4 separate regions of the Homo sapiens genome follow, and regions 2, 3 and 4 are each linked to region 1. The links are contacts of gene promoters, found by promoter capture Hi-C in human tissues and cell types (Jung and others, 2019). All regions are on one chromosome and are shown on one strand. The core of a region is centred on a gene start or on the middle of the fragment in contact, and the rest is flanking DNA. Distances in the headings are between cores, read along the strand shown. Region 1 holds the start of NME3 (NME/NM23 nucleoside diphosphate kinase 3). Region 2 holds the start of CHTF18 (chromosome transmission fidelity factor 18). Region 3 holds the start of KCTD5 (potassium channel tetramerization domain containing 5). Region 4 holds the start of NTN3 (netrin 3).

Region 1 (6,389 bases), core at 3,890-6,389:
TGGCAGGTGAGCTCTTGGGCTGGGGCAGGAGCAGAGGGAAGGCTTGCAGAGGTGGGAAGGGCCTCGGGGTCTTGGGGCAGGTGCGTGCTCCGTGGCCCCCCCTGGAGCCACCGTTCTTCCTGCAGCGAGAACGGGCCAGAGCCTGACAGCAGCAGCACACGGCCAGAGCCAGAGCCCAGCGGGGACCCCACGGGAGCAGGCAGCAGTGCTGCACCCACCATGTGGCTGGGAGCCCAGAACGGCTGGTAGGAAGGGCCCGGGGCAAGGTGGAGGGAGGGTCCTGGGTGAGCCCCTCGCCCATCGCCGCTTCCTTCCCTAGGCTCTATGTGCACTCGGCTGTGGCCAACTGGAAGAAGTGCCTGCACTCCATCAAGCTGAAGGATTCTGTGCTGAGCCTGGTGTGGGTGACCCCAGACCGAGGGCCGGGCGGCGCGGGGGAACGGGGCGGAGGGGGCTGGCACAGCCTGGCCCAAACCAGGCTCACCGCATTCCTGTTTCAGGCATGTCAAAGGCCGTGTGCTGGTGGCTCTGGCGGACGGGACCCTGGCCATCTTCCACCGTGGTGAAGGTGGGGCCTGGCAGCACGGGGTGTGTGGGTGGCAGCTGATGGCCCTGGCATTGTTTAGCCAAGGGGCTCCCGGGGTTCCAGGCCTCTCCTTAGTCTGGCAGTGGGTGTCTCAACCCGATGCCCTGAGCAGAGGTGGGGCCTGGCCAGGCCTGAGCAGGTGTCCGGGGCTCCCTCCAGATGGCCAGTGGGATCTGAGCAACTATCACCTAATGGACCTGGGCCACCCGCACCACTCCATCCGCTGCATGGCTGTTGTGTACGACCGCGTGTGGTGTGGCTACAAGAACAAGGTGCACGTCATCCAGCCCAAGACCATGCAGATAGAGGCGAGTGCCGGCCAGGGCCCCGGGGAGGGGAAGAGGCTCCTGCTGGCCAGCAGCTCTCCCGCATCTTCCATACGGAAGTCCACGAGGCCCTACGTGGGTCCCATCTCCCCTGTACCACCTATGACTCAGGCTCGAACAGGCGCAAAGCAGGCGCTGGCTGGGAGGTCTGAGGGGACTGCAGGTGGCCCTGGAGCTGTGGCAGGTTTGGGGCTCCCCACTTCCTCTCCTCTCCCCAGCCCTGTTGATGGGCAGCCATGACTCCACAGAAGTCATTTGACGCCCACCCGCGGCGGGAGAGCCAGGTGCGGCAGCTGGCGTGGATCGGCGATGGCGTATGGGTGTCCATCCGCCTGGACTCCACCCTGAGGCTCTACCATGCACACACGCACCAGCATCTACAGGACGTGGACATTGAGCCCTACGTCAGCAAGATGCTAGGTGAGGGGCCACGCCAGATGGGGTGGTGGGGTGCTCAAGGCCAGCCACCCTGACCGCTCTCCCCCACAGGCACTGGCAAGCTGGGTTTCTCCTTCGTACGCATCACGGCCCTGCTTGTCGCGGGCAGCCGGCTCTGGGTGGGCACCGGCAACGGAGTGGTCATCTCCATCCCCCTGACAGAGAGTGAGTGGCCTGCACACCTGCAGGGGCAGTGGTGCTGCCAGAGGTGTACGTGGGTTCACGGGGTGGCTCTGCAGGGCCACCTTGGAGGGTGCCTTGCTGCCCCTACGCTGACCGCTCTCCTCTTCTCCCATGCTCCTCCCATGTCCCCAGCTGTGGTCCTGCACCGAGGCCAGCTCCTGGGGCTCCGAGGTAAGCCCAGCCACCTCGTGTCCCCTCACGGGAGCCTCTCCCACTCTCCACCTGTATGCGGGCTCAGCGCCTCTGGGTTCTCTCCCTGCAGCCAATAAGACATCCCCCACCTCTGGGGAGGGCGCCCGTCCCGGGGGCATCATCCACGTGTATGGCGATGACAGCAGTGACAGGGCGGCCAGCAGCTTCATCCCCTACTGCTCCATGGCCCAGGCCCAGCTATGCTTCCATGGGCACCGCGATGCCGTGAAGTTCTTTGTCTCGGTGCCAGGTGAGGCTGGGCCCCTCCTGCCATCCACATCCCCTGCATGCCAGTGGCCGCCGCCTCCCCCAGGAGGCCGCTGTCCTGAATCGCTTCTGCCATCCCAGGGAACGTGCTGGCCACCCTGAATGGGAGTGTGCTGGACAGCCCAGCCGAGGGCCCTGGGCCAGCTGCCCCTGCCTCGGAGGTCGAGGGCCAGAAGCTGCGGAACGTGCTGGTGCTGAGCGGCGGGGAGGGCTACATCGACTTCCGCATTGGTGAGCGGGGCCCAGGGACAGGGCTGAGGTTGGGCGCGGGGGGAGCCTGGCCGTCACTCTGCTGCTTTGCCCGCAGGAGACGGAGAGGACGACGAGACGGAGGAGGGCGCAGGGGACATGAGCCAGGTGAAGCCCGTGCTGTCCAAGGCAGAGCGCAGTCACATCATCGTGTGGCAGGTGTCCTACACCCCCGAGTGAAGCTGCTGCCCTGCCTGGCCCGACCTGTACATAGGACCCCCGACCACCTGACCCCCGCCCGGCCCGCGGGGTAGCCAGCCAGGCGCCGCCGCCCCTCTTCTAACCTCTCAACCTGCAGCTTTCACCTGAGTCTGGCCCCTCCAGCGGGCAGGGAGTGCGGGGATGCGGATCAGCTGGGAGGAGGAGGGGAGGGGAACTTCCACCCGAGGGGAAGATGCTCTCGGGACAGTTTCCCGGGCAGCTCCTGGCCAGCTTCCAGCCCAGAGTCCTCAAGTCCAGGGCACCTTGGGCCCAGCGCAGGCAGAATCCGAGGTGGTCCTGGCTCTACCCTGGGCCTCCTACTCCCCAGCACCCCTGGAGGAGGCAGGGGCTCCCCGCCGCCGAGGCTGCCTGCCCTGGGCCCACCTCTGCATGCTGCTCATGGGGCCACCCTGCCTCCTGGGCCCTCACTCTGCCTAGGGGAGCTGGGCCAGGCACTAGCCTTTGCCCAGGGAGGTGGGCCTCAGGCTGCCCAGGTGCCTGCACCCCAGCCGGCCTTCTCTGGGGCCTCCCCGTCGTCAAGCCTCTATCCTGTCTGTCCCCACCCCAGCTGTCCCCTGCCCAGGGAGCTGGCATAAAAGCACGAGGCCCGGCTCCCTGGGGCAGCTGCTTGAGAACAGAGACTGCTACCCCATCCTGCCCATGCAGGCAGGCTCTTGCCAGCCCCGTTCTGACCCGTGTCCCCCCAGGCTCTGCCTGGGCAGAAGACTCACCTTGGAGGAGTGGGCCCTGGAGTCCTGTCCCTCCCAGAAGCCCCCAGGGTGGGATTTCTCAGGCTGCCAGGGCAGGCCCAGGCCTCAGGAAGAAGGGGAGGCCCCTGGCCTCTCCGGGATCAGTCCTAGGACACAGGCTCAGCCTCAGGTTGATGGGGGATGATGTGCTCCCGGGGCCTGCCTCCTGCACGGGGCTCCACGGAGCCCAGCTCCCAGACACGCTACTAAGTGCCTAGGGTTGCCCGCTGTGGCCTGCTTCCAGGGAGCAACAGAGAGGCCACCAAGCAGAGGCCCGTGGGGCTGAGGATGGAGCCGCCCCCAGCCGACTCCAAGCCCGCAGAGGGCAGACGCCACCCTGGACTGCTCTCCCTGCCCAGCTGGGCCTCTCTGGCCTATTCCTACCTTCCAGGCCCACTGCACTCCTGTCTGGGAGGCCCTTATGAGGGCAGCCCAGCCCCCGCACCCACCCCCAACCAGAGAAGCACAGATCTTGGGGAGCTGCCCCACAAGCCCCGCTGGCCACCGAGGGCTGCAGCCGCTGCGCTGCCGGCTTCTCCCCACCACCCTGCCACCTCCACTGTGATGTATGTCCGCTCCCTCGTCTGTTCCCCCAGGATCTCGAAGTGACTCCGGGCTGAGCAGTGGGGCGGCTGGGGGAGGGGTGACGATTCTCCTCAGGCTTTGGCCCTGCAAGCAAACCCACATATCTGCTCTGTATGTAATAAATGTCTTAACGTCGTAGCTGCCTGTTCCTGGGCCCAAATCGAAACGAAAACGAGGACTTTATTATAAAAAAACGTTGGACCACGTTGGGCTGGGCACCAGGACAGTGTCCTGGCACGTTTCCAGGCGAGCCGCGCAGGCTCCTGGAGCAGCTCCTCGGGCAGGAAACCCTGTACGCCAGGGATTGGAGAGGCCTGCGCCACCCTCCATGCAACGTCCAGACAGGTGGATGTTCAGCAGCCCGTCCAAAGGGATGCTCCAAGCGCTGTGGGGTGGGGCCAGAAGCCCGCCCACCTGGGCCCTGGAGGAGGCTGGAGTGTGAGAGCCTCTGTGACGCGCATCTGCCGGGCTACTCATACAGCCAGTGCCCAGCGCTGTCCTCCCAGCAGAGGAGCTCGTCTGCGCGGAACCAGAGAGCGATCTCGCGGCGGGCACTCTCCACCGAGTCGCTGCCGTGAATCAGGTTCCTGCGCGGAAGAGGCGCGTGTGAGCGTGGGAAAGAGACCTCCGGCACGGGTACCACGCAGGCTGAACAGGGGGAGGCCGGACGGGGCTGGGACCGTCCCCGGGGCGGGCCTTACTTGCCAACCTCGATGCAGAAATCCCCGCGGATGGTGCCGGGCGGGGCGTCGGCCGGGTTCGTGGCTCCGATGAGCGCCCGCGAGGTGCGCACCACGTCCAGCCCCTGCCATACCTGTGCGGAGGAACGGGCGCGGTATCACGCGGGGGTGGGGGTCCCGGAGCCGCCCGCCCGCTTCCCGGATACTCACCATGGCCACCACCGGCCCGGAGGCCATATACTTGACAAGGCGGCCGTAGAACGGGCGTTCACGCAGCTCGGCGTAGTGCTCACGCAGCAGCTCCTCGGAGGCCTGCGGAAGGGTCAGGCCGCCTGCGCCCGCACCCGGCACCTAGGCGTCCCCAGGTCCCCGCTCCCCTTCCCCCCACACCGCGCCCCCGCTCGCTCACCGCGCCCCCACCTGCACCAGCTTCAGCGCCACCAACTTGAAGCCCTTCCTCTCGAAGCGCCGCACAATCTCGCCCACCAGCCGCCGCTGCACGCCGTCCGGCTTCACGGCCAGGAAGGTGCGTTCGTGTGCGCCGGTGCAGGCTGCGGGGCAGGCGGGGACGGGCCGTCAGGCCGGCCCAGCACCGGCCACCCGCCCCCGGCCCGCGCCGCGCGGCTCACCCGCGGGGAAGAGGTTAGCGAAGATGGTCAGCACCAGGCAGATCATGATGGCGGTGCGGGAGCGGGATCCGCGGGGCGGGGCGGTGGCGCCCGGGGCGGGGCCTGCGCTTAAAGAGGCCTGGTCGGGGCGCTGCGGCCTCCGCGGGGAGGCTGCTTCACTTGCACCCCGGAACCCGGCAGCCGTGGGGGGCCGGAGGGCAGCTGCGGAGGCCAAGTCTCCTCCAGCAGCTCGGACACTAACTGTATCCCCCACAACCCGCCCAGGTGGTTCCACCCACGCGGCGCCCTGCTCCGCACCGCCCGAACCCCGCCCCCCCCGCGCCCCCCCGGCCAGGGCCACGACCACAGCGTCAGCCCTTCTCTCCCCGGTCCTAAAGACAGAGCGCAAAGACACCACGACCCTGGGTACTTCTTTTCTCTTTATTCCCTTTCATAGCTTCTGCCGGGATCCAGGCAGAGAGAGCACTAATGGGGGAAAGGGAGCGAGCGCTTCCCGCTTTCCCCAGCGTGGGCCCTCGGAGTTGGGTGTGGGGGCAGCAGGGCCAGAGGAAAGGCACAGGTGGCGATTTGCCCCAGCCCTCCCCCCTAAGATGCAGACCCTCAGAACACGTCGCGGAAGGTGAGCTCCCTGCTCCGAGAGGCAGACTCGGGTGTAACGCAAAGACGGTTTCTTTCATCAATAAGGTCCCCACTGCCTCACAGCCCCTAAGGCCACCCGCTGGTTCTGGCATTCTAGACGGGGGTGCCCTTGGCCCTTCCTTTGTCTTCCTGTTTTGCAGGGTAATCCCAGGGTTCCATGCGTATCCTCTGCACATTCAGCATGGGCTCCTCGGTGCTTGTGTCTCCATTTTTCTGTCGTTCTGCGATAATCATGGCCCGGAGGAGAGGCGGGTACGGCACGGAGGCCAGGCTGTCTTCCGGCGCCGGCGTGAACGCGGTGAAGGCCTCCTCCTCGTGCTTGGGCACCAGCCGCCAGTCATGGTACATGACGTGTTCGATCTCCCGCGCCTCGCTCTCAGTCTTCCCTGATGAAGAAAAAGAGGCGTCTGCACACACTTGCTGTGCCGTCGGCGGTCGGCATCGAACTGCCGGGCACCCGCTCTCCCGAGCCTTACCTTTGAAGGTCAGGATGCCCCAGGCCTTCCCGTGGTCCAAGTTCTGCAAAGCCAGAAGGAAGCGGGGTCAGCTCGCAAAGCTCTCGGCCCCCGAGGTCAGGAGGTGGGAGCCTCAGCCACGCAAACCTGCAGGGAGGAGGGGAGGCGGGGAGACCAGGCGGCTGCAGGGGCGGGGTGCGGACGGGGTGC
Region 2 (3,585 bases), core at 1-2,500, 980 kb before region 1:
TTGGTCACGCGCCGCTCCTTGAAGCACCTGTACGCGCTGCCGGCGGCTGCCTTGTTTAGGGCCACGCACAGCGCCCCGCTGGTGGAGAAATCCAGCTGGTGGCAGAACCTGGAGTGGGACAGAGTCCAGAGTCTGAGCCACTTTCCTCCACAGACGCCACCGTGGGGCTCCGGCCGCCCCCCCTACCTGAACCCGTAGCAGGTGTCAGGGTCGGCCAGCTCGGGAAAGCGGTACCGCAGCTGCTTCTGCAGGGTCAGAGTCTCCCGCCACGCCTTGCTGTCAATGCGAACGTCCCAGTGCTTGTTGACCACCAGGAAGTCGCGGCTCCGGTACACGATGGACAGGTTCTCCACGCTGCCTGGCTCCATGGCCGGCCTGCCGAGCCACGCGTGGGTGCGTGTGCTGTGAGCACGTGGTGCGCCCCCAGCCCAGCATACAGAGGTACCCGCACCGCCCCACCCGGGCTCCGGTGCGAAGCCACCGAGCCGGGTCCGCAGCCCTACTGTGCACCTGCATCCTCAGTCCCCGAGATCAGTCCCCAGGGCGTCAGCTGGGGAGTCAAGGAGTCAGCCTGCTCCGGGCTGACCTGAAGGGCCCTGCCTGACCTAAGCCTGGAGAAAGAGCCCGTTCCAAACCTGCCCCACAGATCCTCCCCACAGACCCTCCCCTCCAGGGGATGCACGTGAATGCCTCTGCCCGACGGTGGGGGCGGGGAGGGGCTGCAGCACTACCAGGCCCGGCAGCCAGGTCTGCCCGCAGCGCGGGTTAGGGCTGGGGCCTCCTCGCTCCCCGCAGTCCGCGCAGACCCGCGCCCCGCACAGGCCCGGTGGGCAGGCCGACCCTGGCTCCGAGCCCCTCCCGCGCCCACGCCCACGCCAAGACCAACCTGCTGCCGGGCCGTGCAGTCCAGGCCCCCGATGCCGTGCCCGGCGCCGGCTCCAGCCGCGCGCCCGCGCGCTGGCGACCCAGAGACCCTGGAAGCTCCGCTCCGGACGCCTGGCAGCGCTTCCGCCCTGCACCGCTGCGCGCGCAGCCCCGCCCCCCCCCCCGGCCCGCCCCCGGCCCGCCCCCGCCGCGGAAGGGCGGCTGCGGCGGCCAATGGCGAGCTCCCCAGGACAGGACGCGGGGGCTGCGGAGCAGGAACTCGCCCCGCCCACCCCTCGCGCAGCCCCGCCTCCGCCACGCCAACCAATGGCGCGCGCCGCCGGGCACGCCGGCTGCTGATTGGCGGCGCCCGGCACGCTCGGGGCGGGCAGTGCGCGACGGCGGCGGCGGCGCGGGAGGTTCGGAGCGGGAGCTCGGGCTCGCGGACGGTATGGAGGACTACGAGCAGGAGCTGTGCGGCGTCGAGGATGATTTCCACAACCAGTTCGCGGCCGAGCTGGAGGTGCTGGCAGAGCTGGAAGGTGGGGCGCGGCCCCCGGCCGTTGGGGAGGAGCTGCGAAAGCCGGGACAGTGGCGACCTCGGGGAGGGCGTGCCGGGGGCCGAAGGGGCCTCCACGTCGCCGCTGGCGGGATCTGCTGTCTCGGGGCGGCCGCTGACAATCTCCTCTCCCAGCAGGGGCGTCGACTCCGTCGCCCTCCGGGGTCCCCCTGTTCACCGCGGGCCGACCCCCGCGGACGTTCGAGGAGGCCCTTGCCAGAGGGGACGCGGCCTCCAGTCCCGCCCCAGCCGCATCTGTGGGCAGCAGCCAGGGCGGCGCCAGGAAGAGGCAGGTGGACGCCGACCTGCAGCCGGCCGGGTCCCTGCCCCACGGTAGGTTGGCGGCATTGCCCCAGGGCCTCCGGAGTGGGCGCGAGGCTGAGGAGGCCTCTGGTTCCCTGCATGTGTCTCCCCCAGCCCCCAGGATCAAACGGCCTAGGCTGCAGGTGGTCAAGAGGCTGAACTTCAGATCGGAGGAGATGGAGGAGCCGCCCCCTCCCGACTCCTCGCCGACGGACATCACCCCGCCGCCGAGCCCTGAGGACCTCGCAGAGCTTTGGGGCCACGGGTGTGTGGCTTGGACATGGGCGTCCCATCCCATCTGTCCAGTGGGACTCAGATGGAGCCCATCCCGTGCCCTGGATGAGGCCTGGGGGGTGGGGAGGGTTCCATGGCTGAGAGCAGTCTCGGACACCCATATCCAAGGGTGACCCCACGCTTGAGTTTCTGCCACTGAGCCCCGGTCTCTCTCCAGAGTCTCAGAAGCTGCTGCCGACGTGGGTCTCACACGGGCCTCACCAGCTGCCCGCAATCCCGTCCTGAGGCGGCCCCCCATCTTGGAGGACTACGTCCACGTGACATCCACGGAGGGCGTCCGGGCTTATCTGGTGCTGCGTGCTGACCCCATGGCCCCGGGGGTGCAGGTGCGTGGCTGTGGCCTTCCTGCACGGTGGGTGGGCCAGTGCTGCTCAGGAAAGGGTCCTTGGAGCCCCTCACCCCTGCCATTTGCTTAAAGCGGGTCCTGTGCAGAGCCCCAGGGGTGCAGAGGGGGAGGCTGCGTCATGGGGCGTAGACTTAGAGGACACAGCCTCCCCACAGCAGGTTGCTGTCCAGCCTGTTTGTATGGCCTCGGGTGGAGAGGGCCTCCTTGCTTCCCCTCCTGCTTTTGCCCTTTCCTCCTTTCTCCTAAAGCTGCCCCCAATTTCCCTTTGCAGCTGACCCATCTGGATGGCTTCATTCCTTTGGCACCCCTGTCCAGTCTCCCACCCCTCACTGGCCAGCTTACTGGGGTTGTCCCACCCGGGTCCCTGAGCACTGATGGGGGCTGACGTGAATCCTGTGACCTAGGAGGGGCCCAGAGGCAATTGTCCTCCCTTCCCCACAGGGCTCTCTCCTCCACGTCCCATGGCGAGGCGGTGGCCAGCTGGACCTGCTGGGTGTGTCCTTAGCCTCCCTGAAGAAGCAGGTCGACGGCGAGGTAGGGGCTGCGGGTTTGCTGGGGGGCGGTGGCGGGGCCGCCTGAGCCCTCCTGATTCCAGCCTGTTGTTTGCACAGCGGCGGGAGCGGCTGCTTCAGGAGGCCCAGAAGCTTTCAGACACCCTGCACAGGTGACTTGGTTGGCCCTTCCGCCCTGGGGACCCTTGTTGGCTCTTGCACCAACTCCTAGCTCCTAGCGTGTGGGTTGGCATGGTCCCTGCGAGTTGTTTGTGGCTCAGGACGTGGTCCTCTCCAGTCTCAGGTCGGGGGAGGAGGAGGCAGCCCAGCCCTTGGGGGCCCCTGAGGAGGAGCCGACTGACGGTCAAGACGCCTCCAGTCACTGCCTCTGGGTGGATGAGTTTGCACCCCGCCACTACACGGAGCTGCTCAGTGATGACGTGAGGTCTTGTTCTCACTCAAGTGTGGCTGGCTTCCTCTGTTCCCAAGATGGAAGAACCTGGGCCCAGTGATTTTTGCACAGCCAATCCACTGGGCCTCGGAGACGGAGTGGGCTCTGGTTTGCCCTTTTGAGTTGTAGGTGGTGAACTGAGCACAGGGCTGTGTGCTACTGGTCCCCTGTGACCTGTGAGGCAGGCTAGGGGTCCAGGGTGTCACCTGATCCAAGTCTCTGTTCCCTTTCCTACCTTCACAGCAGCTGACACTGGAGTGCCCCTGGGGAGGGCAGG
Region 3 (6,389 bases), core at 1,736-4,235, 910 kb after region 1:
TGCCTGGAAGTGGTATTTTGAGGTGAAAGAGTTTGTTCATTTTGAAGATATTTCTGTCTCTCTCTCGACCTGATGTGTAGACGCTCAGTTCCAGTAGCAGAACCACCTTAGTTGTGTCTTACAGATTCTGAACAAATCGGTTTCTGATAAGCCGTGTGTTCCAAAGAATGTCTGAATAAGACCGCTCTTTATTTAAATGCTAAGAGGATGTCACTACTGCAATCCATTTGTGGCCGATTTTTTCCAAGAGCCAATTTCCTTGTTTTGGTTGCAAGAACCTGGCTCTGCCTGCATGTCAGCTCTCTGCCCTCCCTGCTGCCGTGGCTTTCAAGCGCTTGGCGATATTTTCAGAATCTTGTACTTCATGTCCACAATGGTATTGAATTTGCAACTGCGCAGTCAGCAGAGATAACAAGTGTTGAACTGACCTTGCCACATGCTTAGTGAGTGATCTGTAATTAAGTTTATAGACTCAGAAAGTACATTAGGCCATTTGGAGTCAGTAGCAGAGCAAAGCCTCTACTTGAAAAAAACCACGTAGCTGATTGGGTTTTACAAGAGTGCATTTGTCTCCCCCTTCCACCCCCCCACCTTCAGGTCTTAGTGGTTCACAAGAGCCCAGCAGCCAGGCTGGCTTTTTCATTGTAGGGCGTGGTTGTCCCAGCTGGTGTAGATTTCAGGCCGCCTCCCCCCATCTCCCTGCCCACAGTGTTGCAGATTGCCTGGCTGGCAGCAAGTCCAGACCACCCAAATTTGGTTGGATTCTTCATTTCTCCACTGTAGTTGGGGTCCATTGATTGTGCAGGGGAACGTGCAGGAGGTTTTTCTAGGCACTGCGTTCAGTGCTGCTTCACTCTACCAGAGATTATGGCCAAATTGCACGGAATTTGGTTTCTTGCCCTCTGAAGCCTGAGGGCCCCCCCTTGCCTGGCTGGTTGACAGACCCGGGGTGCTCACTGCTGAGACTTCAGAGATCGCAGCTGCTGTGAGAATACGGTGAAGGTACTATGTTCTGGAAGATGTTGTCATACACTTTTCCCCAGTTATTTTCAAACTTGACATGAGCCTATGTTGACTCACTGGGTGGGGTCCCTTCTTACGCAGCACACGTGGCAAGTGCCTGAATCGGGGCTGGAGGCACTTCAGAGCCTCTGAGGGGCCACCACTTCTGGCCCAAAATTGCAGGGTTGTAGATGAGGCTGCCTGTGGAGAACTGGTGTGAGGAGGAAGCTGTTTCCAACAAAGAGCACTTTCATCTGTTGAGATGGCTGTGGTGAGCAACTGAACGAGCCTACGTGTGTACCTGAATTTTCCCCATAACTCATTTCTTCCATATGAAGAAACACCAAACTATGTACAGAGAACTTTTTACAAAAGGCAGACCTTTTTTAAGCTGTGTAACCCACATAGCCTAACCGTCTGGCAGAATGACTACGAATAGGGGTCATTGTGCTGGTAAAAGCCTCTATTACGACTGTTAAGTTGGATGTTGGCAAAATTAAATTGTTACAGTATTTAGAGCTGCTGTAGCTGTTCCTTCACAACATGAAATAGGATAAATGACTAGTACGTCTTTCAGGTGGGTGGCAGTCAGAACATGCGTAATATTCTCTACCTGGTCTGTAGCTGTAACTGTGATGTACAGACAAAGCAAAAATTAAAAGAACTCATGAAAACAAATAATACAATGGTATTAGGATATACACTTTTGTGTTTTTAATCTTATAGAAGGTTATTTGCTGGCTATTGTTGGCCTCTAGTTCAGCCTGTTATTTAAATTCTTTTTTTTTCTTGAGACGGAGTCTCACTCTGTCGCCCAGGCTAGAGTGCAGTGGCCTGATCTCGGCTAACTGCAACCTCCGCCTCCTGGGTTTAAGCAATTCTCTGCCTCAGCCTCCGAGTAGCTGGGATTACGAGCGCCCACAACCACATCTGGCTAATTTTTTGTATTTTTGGTAGAGACGGAGATTCACCATCTTGGCCAGGCTGATGTTGAACTCCTGACCTCGTGATCCACCCACCTTGGCCTCCCAAAGTGTTGGGATTACAGACATGAGCCACCGCGCCCGGCCTAAATTCTAATATATGAATTATTTGTATTGAATTCATGTTCGGGGCCACGTTGTTATATGTATTGATATACAGCCTTGAATGTGAATAATTACTATATATTTTACAACTTTTTTCTGGCTTTATTACAAAAACTTTCTTTTTTTTTTTTTGAGACAGACTCTCGCCCTATCACCAGGCTGGAGTGCAGTGGCGAGATCTCAGCTCACTGCAACCTCTGCCTCCCGGGTTCACGCCATTCTCCTGCCGCAGCCTCCCGAGTAGCTTGGATTACCGGCGCCCACCACCGCGCCAGGCTAATTTTTGTATTTTCAGTGGAGACCGGGCCTCACCATGTTGGCCAGCGTGGTCTCGATCTCCTGACCGCCTGATCCTCCCGCCTCGGCCTCCCAAAGTGCTGGGATTACAGGCGTGAGCCACCAGGCCCCGCCCTTATTATATAAATTTTCTATTGGGTCAATGATTTAATCATATAATTTAATGAATCTGTTCTTTTTTTCCCCCCAAATATTTGTGCTTTAGGTGTAGTTACCAGATGATGAATTTTCCTCCTATGCTCCGTAGTCTTGTAATAAAAAGCATGTACAGTGTAGACGTTTGCTGGCATGGCTCTTCCTTTGACCAGTTCATGAACTGGAGTCAGGGTGGGGGTGAAGGCTAGGGTCGAGGTCTGGGTCAGGCGCTCGTGCACCGCTCGTGGGAGGTCGAGGCTGATGTCCGCTGCTCCCCATCAGCGTTAGTGCCCAGATCACCCCGTGCTCCGCTCCCGCCGGAAGCGGGCCCAGCCTCCTGCTTTTCGGGACCGGAACTTCCGCCTACCGCGTGACGCCGGGGCGGGCGCTCTACCAGGGCGGACCTGTGGGCGGGACAGAACTCAGAGGACGCTATTAAAAGCCGGACGCTTCCGGTGGAAGGGAGCTGTTGCGGGGCTTGCTGGGATCATGGCGGAGAATCACTGCGAGCTCCTGTCGCCGGCCCGGGGCGGCATCGGGGCGGGGCTGGGGGGCGGCCTGTGCCGCCGCTGCAGCGCTGGGCTCGGCGCCCTGGCCCAGCGCCCTGGCAGCGTGTCCAAGTGGGTCCGACTCAACGTCGGCGGCACCTACTTCCTCACCACTCGGCAGACCCTGTGCCGGGACCCGAAATCCTTCCTGTACCGCTTATGCCAGGCCGATCCCGACCTGGACTCAGACAAGGTGAGGGCCTCACGGGCCAGCCCGGAGGGTCCTGGCCTTCCCGGCCTGCGGCTCCTGCACACGCCCTGCTTCGTGCGGAGGAGACTTCAGCGGGAGCGGGCGACTCTCCTCGGGCTTCGAGCCCCGCGCTCCCTTGTCGCCAGCTCCTCCCCAGCTTGCCCCGATCCCCTACCCTGGGAGGGGAGGGTGAGGATGGCGCCCTGGCGTCCACTGCCTTTGAGGATCCTGAGTCGATTCACCTTGGGGGTGTCTCTTCCTCGCCCTCTTTGCTCTTTGGTGGAGGAGGCTTCCTAGACCCCGGACTTTGCTGTGATTCTACTTTCTTTTTCTCACTAGGTTCTTTTGCCCAGGGTGTGTGAACGCCTTCTCTTCTCTGTCCCAGGGTACTTGCTGGCTCTGGAAACAGAACCCTTGGCGTTGTTTCACATTCTGGACGTTTGAATTAACGCTGACGTGGGGGTTGATATGGGCGGCCCTTTTTTTCCCTGGTGACTTGCATTTAGAGAGTTGGCGCTCCATCCTTTCCATCCACAGCACGCAGCACCCACTCAGCACCTCTTAGAAGATGCGTCCGTAGTATATAGTATGATTTTTCGAAGGGGATTTTGCTCATATTAAGGGTTGCTTTAGGGATGTCCAGGAAGGGTCAGGTAAGGAATCTTTCAATCTGCTTTCTAATTGGCTTAGTTTTCCCACTGTCTTCGCAAAAGGACAGGAATTTCCAGGTTAGTTTGCAGCTTGTCTTTCATCAAGCGAAATGCTCATGCTGTTGGGTAGATGGTAATAGAAACCTTTTGCTACCTTTATTTATCAAGAGTTGTGGAGCCGAGGAACCGTGTCTTGGGAGTTGTGCAGGATTGAAACTCACAAAAAAGCCTGTTTGAAGAAGTTGTTACCTATATTTATTCAAGGCAGTTCACAAGCCTTATACTAACTTTGCGGGGTCTTTCAGTTGAGCTTACATGACTGCGCTTGGCTTTGTGCCTTGGCAGCCAACATTTGCCATGCAGGAGGCTTCCCAGAAAGGTTCGGATCCCTCTTCAAGTTTGAGAAGCCTGACTGAGACCATTCTCAGCATGGCATGACCGTGATCAGGAAGTGAGAATCTGGAGTTACTGCTAAGGCAGCCTTGTGGGTGGAAATGAGGGTTTGAGATGCCAACCCTCCTGTGCCTCCCCACAACTTCCAACTGTTTCCATTGCTCATTTGACCAAGCCCTCTACTCAGAGAATTGACCTCCCAGGAAATGACAGTCATCCCCAGGATAGAAATAGGCGTTTGTTAGCTGTGATTTTCCTTTTATAAGTGTGGGTGTATGTTTTACTGTTTGGTTTTTCTTTTTAAATAACAGGGCTTAGTGGTCACTCCCTTGCCTTTCTACTCAAGCATTCCTGTTTTGTATATGAAATTAGAGTTTAAATTGCTCTTGTCCATTGGGTTCTTTGAGGCAATGGTTGTCTATTCAGCACTGGAGCACTTGATTCCCAGTTGATGAACTTTAGCACAGTTAAGGTGGTTGATCCCTTTGCTTTACTGTTCCTTAAGACTTTGTTAAAAATTATGGGCCAGGCGCGGTGGCTCATGCCTGTAATCCCAACACTTTGGGAGGCCCAGGCAGGTGGATCTCGTTCAAAACCAACCGGGCCAATATGGTGATGCCCGGTCTCTACTAAAAATACAAAAAGGTGGGCGCGGTGGCTCACGTCTGTAATCCCAGCACTTTGGGAGGCCGAGGCAGGCGGATCACGAGGTCAGGAGATCGAGACCATCCTGGCTAACATGATGAAACTCTGTCTCTACTAAAAATACAAAAAATGAGCCAGGCGCGGTGGCGAGCACCTGTAGTCCCAGCTACTAGGCAGTCTGAGGCAGGAGAATGGCGTGAGCCTGGGAGGAGGAGCTTGCAGTGAGCCTAGTTAGCGCCACTGCAGTCCAGCCTGGGTGAAAGAGCAAGACTCCATCACAAAAAAAAAAAAATAAAAAAAAAATAAGCCAGGTGTGGTGGCGCGTGCCTGTAGTCCCAGCTACTCTGGAGGCTGAGGCAGAAGAATCGCTTGAACCTGGGAGGTGGAGCTTGCAGTGAGTCAAGATCACGCCACTGCACTCTAGCTTGGATGACAGAGGAAGACTCTGTCTCAAACAAACAAAAAAATGCTTTACTGTAGGAATCAATTCTTTGAGCGAGGGGTAATTAATCTTTCTGAATATATCTGTGTTATACTTGCTCTTTTCATCATCATCCATTTAACCAGGTTTGATTTCCAAATGGTAAACTCAAATTCAGAACATGAAGGTAAAGTAGCAGATACAGTCGTCTCTGTCTCATACAATAATTGGAGTAGGGGCCGGGCAAGGTGGCTCACGCCTGTAATCCCAGCACTTTGGGAGGCCGAGGCGCGTGAATCACCTGAGGTCAGGAGTTTGAGAGCAGCCTGGCCAGCATGGCAAAACCCCGTCTCTACTAAAAATACAAAAAAATTAGCTGGGCATGGTGGCGCGTGCCTGTACTCCCAGCTACTCGGGAGGCTGAGGCAGGAGAACCACTTGAACCGAGAGGCAGAGGTTACAGTGGGCTGAGGTTGCGCCACTGCACTCCAGCATGGGCGACAGATCGAGACTCTGTCTCAAAAAAAAAGAAAAAAGAAAAGGAGAAAACAATAATTGGAGTAAATAAGGTTAGTTTTAGTGACAGATAGTTTGCCAAAAGTGTAGTGCTAATTCATATTAGTCACGTTACTAAAGTGTTTTCCGGTGTTTTTCATCAAATGAGGAAATGTGTAAAATGCTTCATCTTAGTTTTGTCTCCAGTGGCTCTGATGAAAGAATGTCCCAGGAGATTCCTCCTAATTAAATGCTGACTGAGGAATCTGAGGAGGGGGGGAAGGGGTGTCAGGAGTGGGAGGCCATTAATGACACGTTGGAAGACAAACAGGATGTTGATTCACCTGTAAAGATCTCCAAGGCCTGACCTCAGAGTTGAGATTAAGGAAAGAATATTCCTCGAGTTGGACTTAAGCATGGATCTGGTGGAAGAGTCCCTGCCTGGATTATTAGACTTGTGTGGAGTGAGCACCTGGGCTTGCAGAGTGTGGGGGTCTGGAGAGGAGTTGGGTGGGGAGATTTAAG
Region 4 (6,389 bases), core at 2,720-5,219, 700 kb after region 1:
CCCGTGGCTTTCCAGAGCAGGTGGTCTCTACCTGACGTTATTTCACTGGCTGACTTGGCTCATGGCTCATCCCCCATGCCTACTGGATGTCTGCCTCAGGAGGACAGGGGTGCTATCCCCCCTACCCCGGCCAGGCCCTGATGGGAGCCAGATGTGCACTGACTCAATGATCCACCAATCCCGGGGGCCAACCCAGAGGACAGTGGTGTCCTGGAGCAGGGAGGCGGCCTAGATAGCTTTGTGGGGGTCCTGAGGAGGCCCCAACACAGGAGTCCAGGGCGGGAAAGACAAGCCGCCTCCTCGGACTAACGCCCGCCCACCCCGATTCCCCGCCAAAACCCAGAGGTAGCAGCTGACTCCTCGGGCTCCCGGCTGGCGTCACCGCCTCTGGAGCCAATGGGCTCTGACGTGGCGAGCCTGGAACGCCACTGGGACTGCGCGGGCGTCCACACCACCCACCGAGCGCGGCCACCGCGTTGGCGGCATGAGCGCGCTCGAGCCTCCCCCAGCGGCGCCCGCCTCGCCCCCCGGGCCGGGTCTGGCGCACCCGGAACCCCCCGGGGCCCTGCGCGCCCTGCTCTTGGCCACCGGCGGCGCTGGGGGCTCGTGGCCTCGCTGCATTCTGCCGTTCGGTGCCGTGGCCGTGCTGGCTGGTGCGGCTGCCACGGCCATCACCTTCTCGCTGCGGGGACCCCGCCTGGACCTGGCCCAGGGCTCGTCGCTGGCCGCGCTCAGTGCGGGCCTGGGGCTTCTGACCGCCGCCTTCCTGTGCTGGCGCGCTCGGCGGAGGCGAAGGGCCGGGCGCAGGGAGCCGGGGGCGCCCTGAGCCGCGGGCGAGGCCCCCTCCCATCGAGGTCACCGCGAGCCGGCCGCCCCTCCCTCCAACCTCGCCCCGGCCGGGCGGGCGCAGTGCCAAGCGTGGTCGCAGAGGCCGCCCCCCACACCCCATCCCCAAATCGTTTCTTCTGGAACCCTTTGGGCAGAGAAGGCCACCGGCCGTTTCCCTCCCTCCCTCTCTGCTTTCCCTCTCTTCCCTCCTCCGTCCAACGTCGCATTTCAGCTTTTGACTTGGCGCGCAGAGCTGGCGCGACCGCAGAGCGGCCTGGCTGGGCAGCGGTCTGCGAGGCTGGGGGATCGACCCGGCGCGAGGGTGCTGGGTGCAGGGCAGCGCGACGCGGGCTCGGCCACACCACCCGCCGTTGGGAGCCGGCGCTGTGTCTGCTCCTGGGCTGTCTGCCTTCGGAGCTCGGTTGGAAACCCCCCGAGGCATAATAGGCGCTCGATAAATGTGCAATAGGTGAACATGTGGTGGCTTGCAGGCGTCTGGGGGGAGACAGCAGGTTCTGGGCTGGGCAGGGAATTATTGGATCAACGGGCATCTTACAGGAAAGACTCTCAGCTCCCTGCCGCCTAGGACTGTCCAGCCCATCTATGCCCTCTCCCCAGCCTGTGCCCCAAAGCTGGAGCTGCCACTCTAGGGGTGAGGGGTGGGGTGGGGAGGGGGAGGCGAAGCACTGCGGCCTGAGTTGCAGGTGGGGGGAGGGGAGGCGGAGCTTCTTTGTTGCAGAAGGTGCCAGGAGGGGGCAGGGCCAGTGGAGAGGTGGGAGGTGGGAGAGGCCCCAGCCAGGGGCTGGGACAGGTGGCTGGGTCCCTGGGGAGCAATAAGTCCCGCTTGGGCGCTGTGGGGAGGCCCTTCCTAACTCCCAAACACCATCTGTGAGGGCTGGGGGTGGGGGCAGAGTAGCGTGTGCAGAGGACTGTTCCTGGGGAGAGGCCCTGTGACCAGCGGCCTCCTCCCTGGGGAGCTGGCGGTACAATGGCCCTCTGGGCCCACGGCCTCCCGCCGCTGCTGCTGACCCAGATGAACAATTGGGGCAGGGCTGAGCCCCAGGCACCTACTTTCCCCCACCCCAGAAGCCACCAGACGTTCTGCAGACCCCAGTCCTGGCTCACAGGGAAGCTGAGCTGGAGACAAAGCCAGCCCCTCTGATGAGGGTGGAAGAGGCTGCTGGCCACTGTCCCTCTTGCAGCCTGGCTGGCAGCCAGTCTGGCAGTGGCCCTGACGTCCAGAGACAGCTTGGGTTTCCCCAGAGGCTTGTCTCTGGCCAGTGGGACCCCTCTGTCAGGCCTGGGCTTTTCTCTCCACTGTCCCAGAATGATGATCTCAGCCCCCATAGTCCCCCCAGGGTTCCTCCCACCCTTAGGGTGGGGTGTCGGGGGGTGGGGGTTGGGAGCCAGAAGGACCTTGAAGAGGGTGGTTGGGACGTTTCAGGTTCTAAGCTTGACCCACAGAGCGGAGCGTGAGCCCCGTCAGGTTGAGGTCCCTCAACTTGTAAAGGACACAATTCCCATTCTCTTTATCAGGAAGCTGAGGGGCAGGGGCCCTGTGGCAGAGAGAGAGCCCCTTAGCCCTCTCTGTTCAGTCCTCCGGTGCCCCCATCCCTGTGCATCTGTGGCTGTCACATGCAGATGTGTGGCAAGGAGAAGGTGCCCACCAGCCAGTGTCAGTTGCTCCAGGAGCCAAGCCAGGTGCCCTATCACCCTGTCTTCCCGTTCCTCCCCTCCATGGTCAGGCCCTCCTGCTCCCTCCTCTGGTCCTTCAGTTTCCCCTAGGAGGCTTCCGTGTCCTCCTGCCCCTCCTCTCCCCAACAGCGGGATGCGTCTACCTCTCCATTCTCTTCCTCCTGGTCCTTGCTCATCTCTGGTCGTGTCCAGGGTAGCACCCACGTGGCCTCCTCCACCAGCTGCAGGCCTGGCCTCCCATCTGAAACGGGGCATTCAGGCCTCGATGCTGGCCCTGCACGGAACTTGTTCCCTGCCCCTCCCTGGGATGCTTGGCCTCCTCTGTCAAGGACCTGAAAGTCGGAGGGGAGGAGGTTTCTCTGACCAGAGCTGTTCCTGGACCCTCTTTGGTGGTGTCGCTCCCAGGCACAGCTACCCCATCCCCAGCTAGTCCCCAGGCCACCCAGCTGGGCTTCTGCCTCAGTTTCCCTGCCCAAACGTGCTGTGACGTAGGGCAGTGGGCTCCGGGTTGCGACCAGCCCCTTCCCATGATTAAACCCTACTCCCTGCCCCTGCAGAGGGGTCCTCAACAGCTAACCAAGCCCCCGAACCCCAAGAAGCCACCCCATCCCACCCTCCAGCTTCCATGTCCTCCCTGCCAGCTGGGCCCGTGGCAGAGGTGCCCCTAGAAACTTGCAGACCCAGGGAGCTTTGGGATCAGAATCTGGCCTGGTGCAGGGGATGCTGGCCTCATGTCTTAGCCCAGCTCAGGCCCATGGGGGTGCCCCCCTTCCTCAACATGGGCAGGAGACACTCCAATTTGTGCAGCTCTCGACTTGGGCCTGATGCCACTTGAGACTCATCAAATCCAACAGCTTCAGAGCGCGTGCTGAGTAACAGGCATCTGGCAGGTGAGGAAACAGGAGCCCAAGACATGCAGCCAGAAATGGGGCAGTTGGATTCAAAATTAGACCTGACCGAATCCTGGGTTCCTTCTACTCGAGTAGATGCTGCTTTGGGGATGACCCTTCAACTGGTGGTTACTTGGCTTCCCTACCTGGGGAACATCCAGGGCCTCTGCTGTCAGACCCGGGGCCTTGCCTGCCTGATGGTCTTCAGGGAGGAGGCGACCCAGACCCCCGTCCAGCACGTGGCACAGCCCCAGGAGCAGTAAAGACCTGGCTGTGGGCCCAGGACCCTGCTGGGTGGTCCCCCACGGGCTGCGAAGGCTGAGCTGCCCCCCTCCAGACCCCTCCCGCCAGCGCATTCCTGGCTCCCCGGCCCCTCCCCTGGCTCCCGGGCCTCCCAGCCCCCTTCCCCGCTGGCCCAGCCCGCGTCTGAATCTGCTTCTGATTCCAGCTCTGCGATGAGGCCCCCTCCCCTCCCCTGCCTCCTTCCCGACCCGAGCAGCCCCGCCCCCGGCTGGGCCCGGGCTTGCGCCTGCTGCGCCCCCCACCCCCTCCTGGCACAGCTCGTCCGCCCTCGCTGCAGCCGGGAGGAGGCGGCGGCCCGTGCACCGCAGGCCCCGCCCGCCCACGGCCCTTCCCGGGAGGCCGGGAGACCTGCTCCGCCCGGCCCTCGGTGGGTGAGTGCGAGCGGCGGGTGGGGCCTCCGCGGGCGGAGGCACCGGGAGCGGGGGCGACGCCTGTCATCGCTCTAGGCCCAGCGGGAGGACGCGCCAACATCCCCGCTGCTGTGCTGGGCCCGGGGCGTGCCCGCCGCTGCTCCCACCTCTGGGCCGGGCTGGGGCCGCCCGGGGGCCCTGTTCCTCGGCATTGCGGGCCTGGTGGGCAGAGCCGCGGAGAGGGCTTCTTTTCCCCAAGGGCAGCGTCTTGGGGCCCGGCCACTGGCTGACCCGCAGCGGCTCCGGCCATGCCTGGCTGGCCCTGGGGGCTGCTGCTGACGGCAGGCACGCTCTTCGCCGCCCTGAGTCCTGGGCCGCCGGCGCCCGCCGACCCCTGCCACGATGAGGGGGGTGCGCCCCGCGGCTGCGTGCCAGGACTGGTGAACGCCGCCCTGGGCCGCGAGGTGCTGGCTTCCAGCACGTGCGGGCGGCCGGCCACTCGGGCCTGCGACGCCTCCGACCCGCGACGGGCACACTCCCCCGCCCTCCTTACTTCCCCAGGGGGCACGGCCAGCCCTCTGTGCTGGCGCTCGGAGTCCCTGCCTCGGGCGCCCCTCAACGTGACTCTCACGGTGCCCCTGGGCAAGGCTTTTGAGCTGGTCTTCGTGAGCCTGCGCTTCTGCTCAGCTCCCCCAGCCTCCGTGGCCCTGCTCAAGTCTCAGGACCATGGCCGCAGCTGGGCCCCGCTGGGCTTCTTCTCCTCCCACTGTGACCTGGACTATGGCCGTCTGCCTGCCCCTGCCAATGGCCCAGCTGGCCCAGGGCCTGAGGCCCTGTGCTTCCCCGCACCCCTGGCCCAGCCTGATGGCAGCGGCCTTCTGGCCTTCAGCATGCAGGACAGCAGCCCCCCAGGCCTGGACCTGGACAGCAGCCCAGTGCTCCAAGACTGGGTGACCGCCACCGACGTCCGTGTAGTGCTCACAAGGCCTAGCACGGCAGGTGACCCCAGGGACATGGAGGCCGTCGTCCCTTACTCCTACGCAGCCACCGACCTCCAGGTGGGCGGGCGCTGCAAGTGCAATGGACATGCCTCACGGTGCCTGCTGGACACACAGGGCCACCTGATCTGCGACTGTCGGCATGGCACCGAGGGCCCTGACTGCGGCCGCTGCAAGCCCTTCTACTGCGACAGGCCATGGCAGCGGGCCACTGCCCGGGAATCCCACGCCTGCCTCGGTGAGGCCTTGGAGGGTGGCCTGGGGACCTTGGACACAACCAGCCTGCCCCTGACCCATCCCTCCCTGCAGCTTGCTCCTGCAACGGCCATGCCCGCCGCTGCCGCTTCAACATGGAGCTGTACCGACTGTCCGGCCGCCGCAGCGGGGGTGTCTGTCTCAACTGCCGGCACAACACCGCCGGCCGCCACTGCCACTACTGCCGGGAGGGCTTCTATCGAGACCCTGGCCGTGCCCTGAGTGACCGTCGGGCTTGCAGGGGTGAGCCACCACCGGCCACCTGCAGGCCCTCACCCTCTGACTTCCCAGATCCCCAGACAGGCTTCTGACCAGGCCCTTCCCACCTCTGTCCTCAGCCTGCGACTGTCACCCGGTTGGTGCTGCTGGCAAGACCTGCAACCAGACCACAGGCCAGTGTCCCTGCAAGGATGGCGTCACTGGCCTCACCTGCAACCGCTGCGCGCCTGGCTTCCAGCAAAGCCGCTCCCCAGTGGCGCCCTGTGTTAGTGAGTGACCCTGCCCCGCCTCAGCCACCAAGCCAAGGCCACCCCAGCTCCCTGCTGTTGTCCCGTCTATTCCCCGAGCCCTGCAGATCTCTCTGCCCCTCCATCGCAGGCCATTCTCCCTCCCTCTCTGCAGAGACCCCTATCCCTGGACCCACTGAGGACAGCAGCCCTGTGCAGCCCCAGGGTGAGTGGACACAGGACAGGGCCCCAGACTGGCATGACTTTGGGGGAGGGGGCTCTGGGAGGAGAGGGTGGGGAAAGGGAGTCTGTGCCAGCCTCCCACCTTCTACCCAGACTGTGACTCGCACTGCAAACCTGCCCGTGGCAGCTACCGCATCAGCCTAAAGAAGTTCTGCAAGAAGGACTATGGTAGGTGCCCTCAGGCCTCCCGCGGACCTTCCCACCTTCCTCCTCTCCCTACCTTCCCTCCTCCGCCAGCTTCCCCTTGGAACGCCTTGACCCTTGCTGGGCCCCAAGGCCCATCCTCATCCCTCAGGTCCTCCACGGGCAGCGACCCCGCCCCTTCAGCCCCCACTGCCCTCCTGGTGTCCTCCCCGTGCCTCCCCCTACCGCGGGCAGGCC

The links. Contacts are between HindIII fragments. The study calls those that stand out against the background at their distance.
Region 2: the fragment with the promoter of CHTF18 here is called in contact with the fragment with the promoter of NME3 in region 1 in 1 of the 25 tissues and cell types used here (dorsolateral prefrontal cortex).
Region 3: the fragment with the promoter of KCTD5 here is called in contact with the fragment with the promoter of NME3 in region 1 in 1 of the 25 tissues and cell types used here (stomach).
Region 4: the fragment with the promoter of NTN3 here is called in contact with the fragment with the promoter of NME3 in region 1 in 1 of the 25 tissues and cell types used here (dorsolateral prefrontal cortex).

What each region holds. Positions count from the first base shown.
Region 1 is chr16:1,766,404-1,772,792 of GRCh38, forward strand. NME3 (NME/NM23 nucleoside diphosphate kinase 3) reads right to left here and starts at 5,140. Exons shown (of 5, transcript NM_002513.3): 1 at 5,086-5,140; 2 at 4,877-5,007; 3 at 4,667-4,768; 4 at 4,478-4,590; 5 at 3,917-4,363. The coding sequence starts at 5,131. The coding sequence ends at 4,246. MAPK8IP3 (mitogen-activated protein kinase 8 interacting protein 3) reads left to right here. Exons shown (of 32, transcript NM_001318852.2): 22 at 1-6; 23 at 126-245; 24 at 320-400; 25 at 501-568; 26 at 746-894; 27 at 1,161-1,332; 28 at 1,402-1,515; 29 at 1,666-1,704; 30 at 1,796-1,975; 31 at 2,074-2,223; 32 at 2,300-3,948. The coding sequence ends at 2,421. MRPS34 (mitochondrial ribosomal protein S34) reads right to left here. Exons shown (of 3, transcript NM_023936.2): 2 at 6,201-6,243; 3 at 5,492-6,110. The coding sequence ends at 5,818. RefSeq lists enhancers at 2,216-2,265, 5,776-5,865 and silencers at 4,376-4,575, 4,886-5,475, 6,346-6,389. The HindIII fragment of the contact is 25,298 bases long and covers 1-6,389 here.
Region 2 is chr16:787,370-790,954 of GRCh38, forward strand. CHTF18 (chromosome transmission fidelity factor 18) reads left to right here and starts at 1,251. Exons shown (of 22, transcript NM_022092.3): 1 at 1,251-1,406; 2 at 1,562-1,756; 3 at 1,841-1,991; 4 at 2,178-2,346; 5 at 2,808-2,900; 6 at 2,978-3,030; 7 at 3,156-3,297. The coding sequence starts at 1,316. It overlaps RPUSD1 (RNA pseudouridine synthase domain containing 1), which reads right to left and starts at 1,012. Exons shown (of 6, transcript NM_058192.3): 1 at 887-1,012; 2 at 187-375; 3 at 1-108. The coding sequence starts at 368. RefSeq lists an enhancer at 1-285 and silencers at 735-824, 845-1,304, 1,485-1,544. The HindIII fragment of the contact is 13,916 bases long and covers 1,202-3,585 here.
Region 3 is chr16:2,679,538-2,685,926 of GRCh38, forward strand. KCTD5 (potassium channel tetramerization domain containing 5) reads left to right here and starts at 2,986. Exons shown (of 6, transcript NM_018992.4): 1 at 2,986-3,263. The coding sequence starts at 3,012. RefSeq lists a silencer at 3,069-3,248 and enhancers at 3,344-3,954, 3,499-3,548, 3,619-3,668. The HindIII fragment of the contact is 14,940 bases long and covers 1-6,389 here.
Region 4 is chr16:2,467,328-2,473,716 of GRCh38, forward strand. NTN3 (netrin 3) reads left to right here and starts at 3,970. Exons shown (of 6, transcript NM_006181.3): 1 at 3,970-5,302; 2 at 5,374-5,562; 3 at 5,658-5,807; 4 at 5,941-5,991; 5 at 6,102-6,176. The coding sequence starts at 4,375. It overlaps TEDC2-AS1 (TEDC2 antisense RNA 1), which reads right to left and starts at 886. Exons shown (of 1, transcript NR_135198.1): 1 at 1-886. RefSeq lists silencers at 335-384, 445-784, 795-844, 4,108-4,247 and enhancers at 1,292-1,835, 1,795-1,934, 2,095-2,174. The HindIII fragment of the contact is 12,116 bases long and covers 1-6,389 here.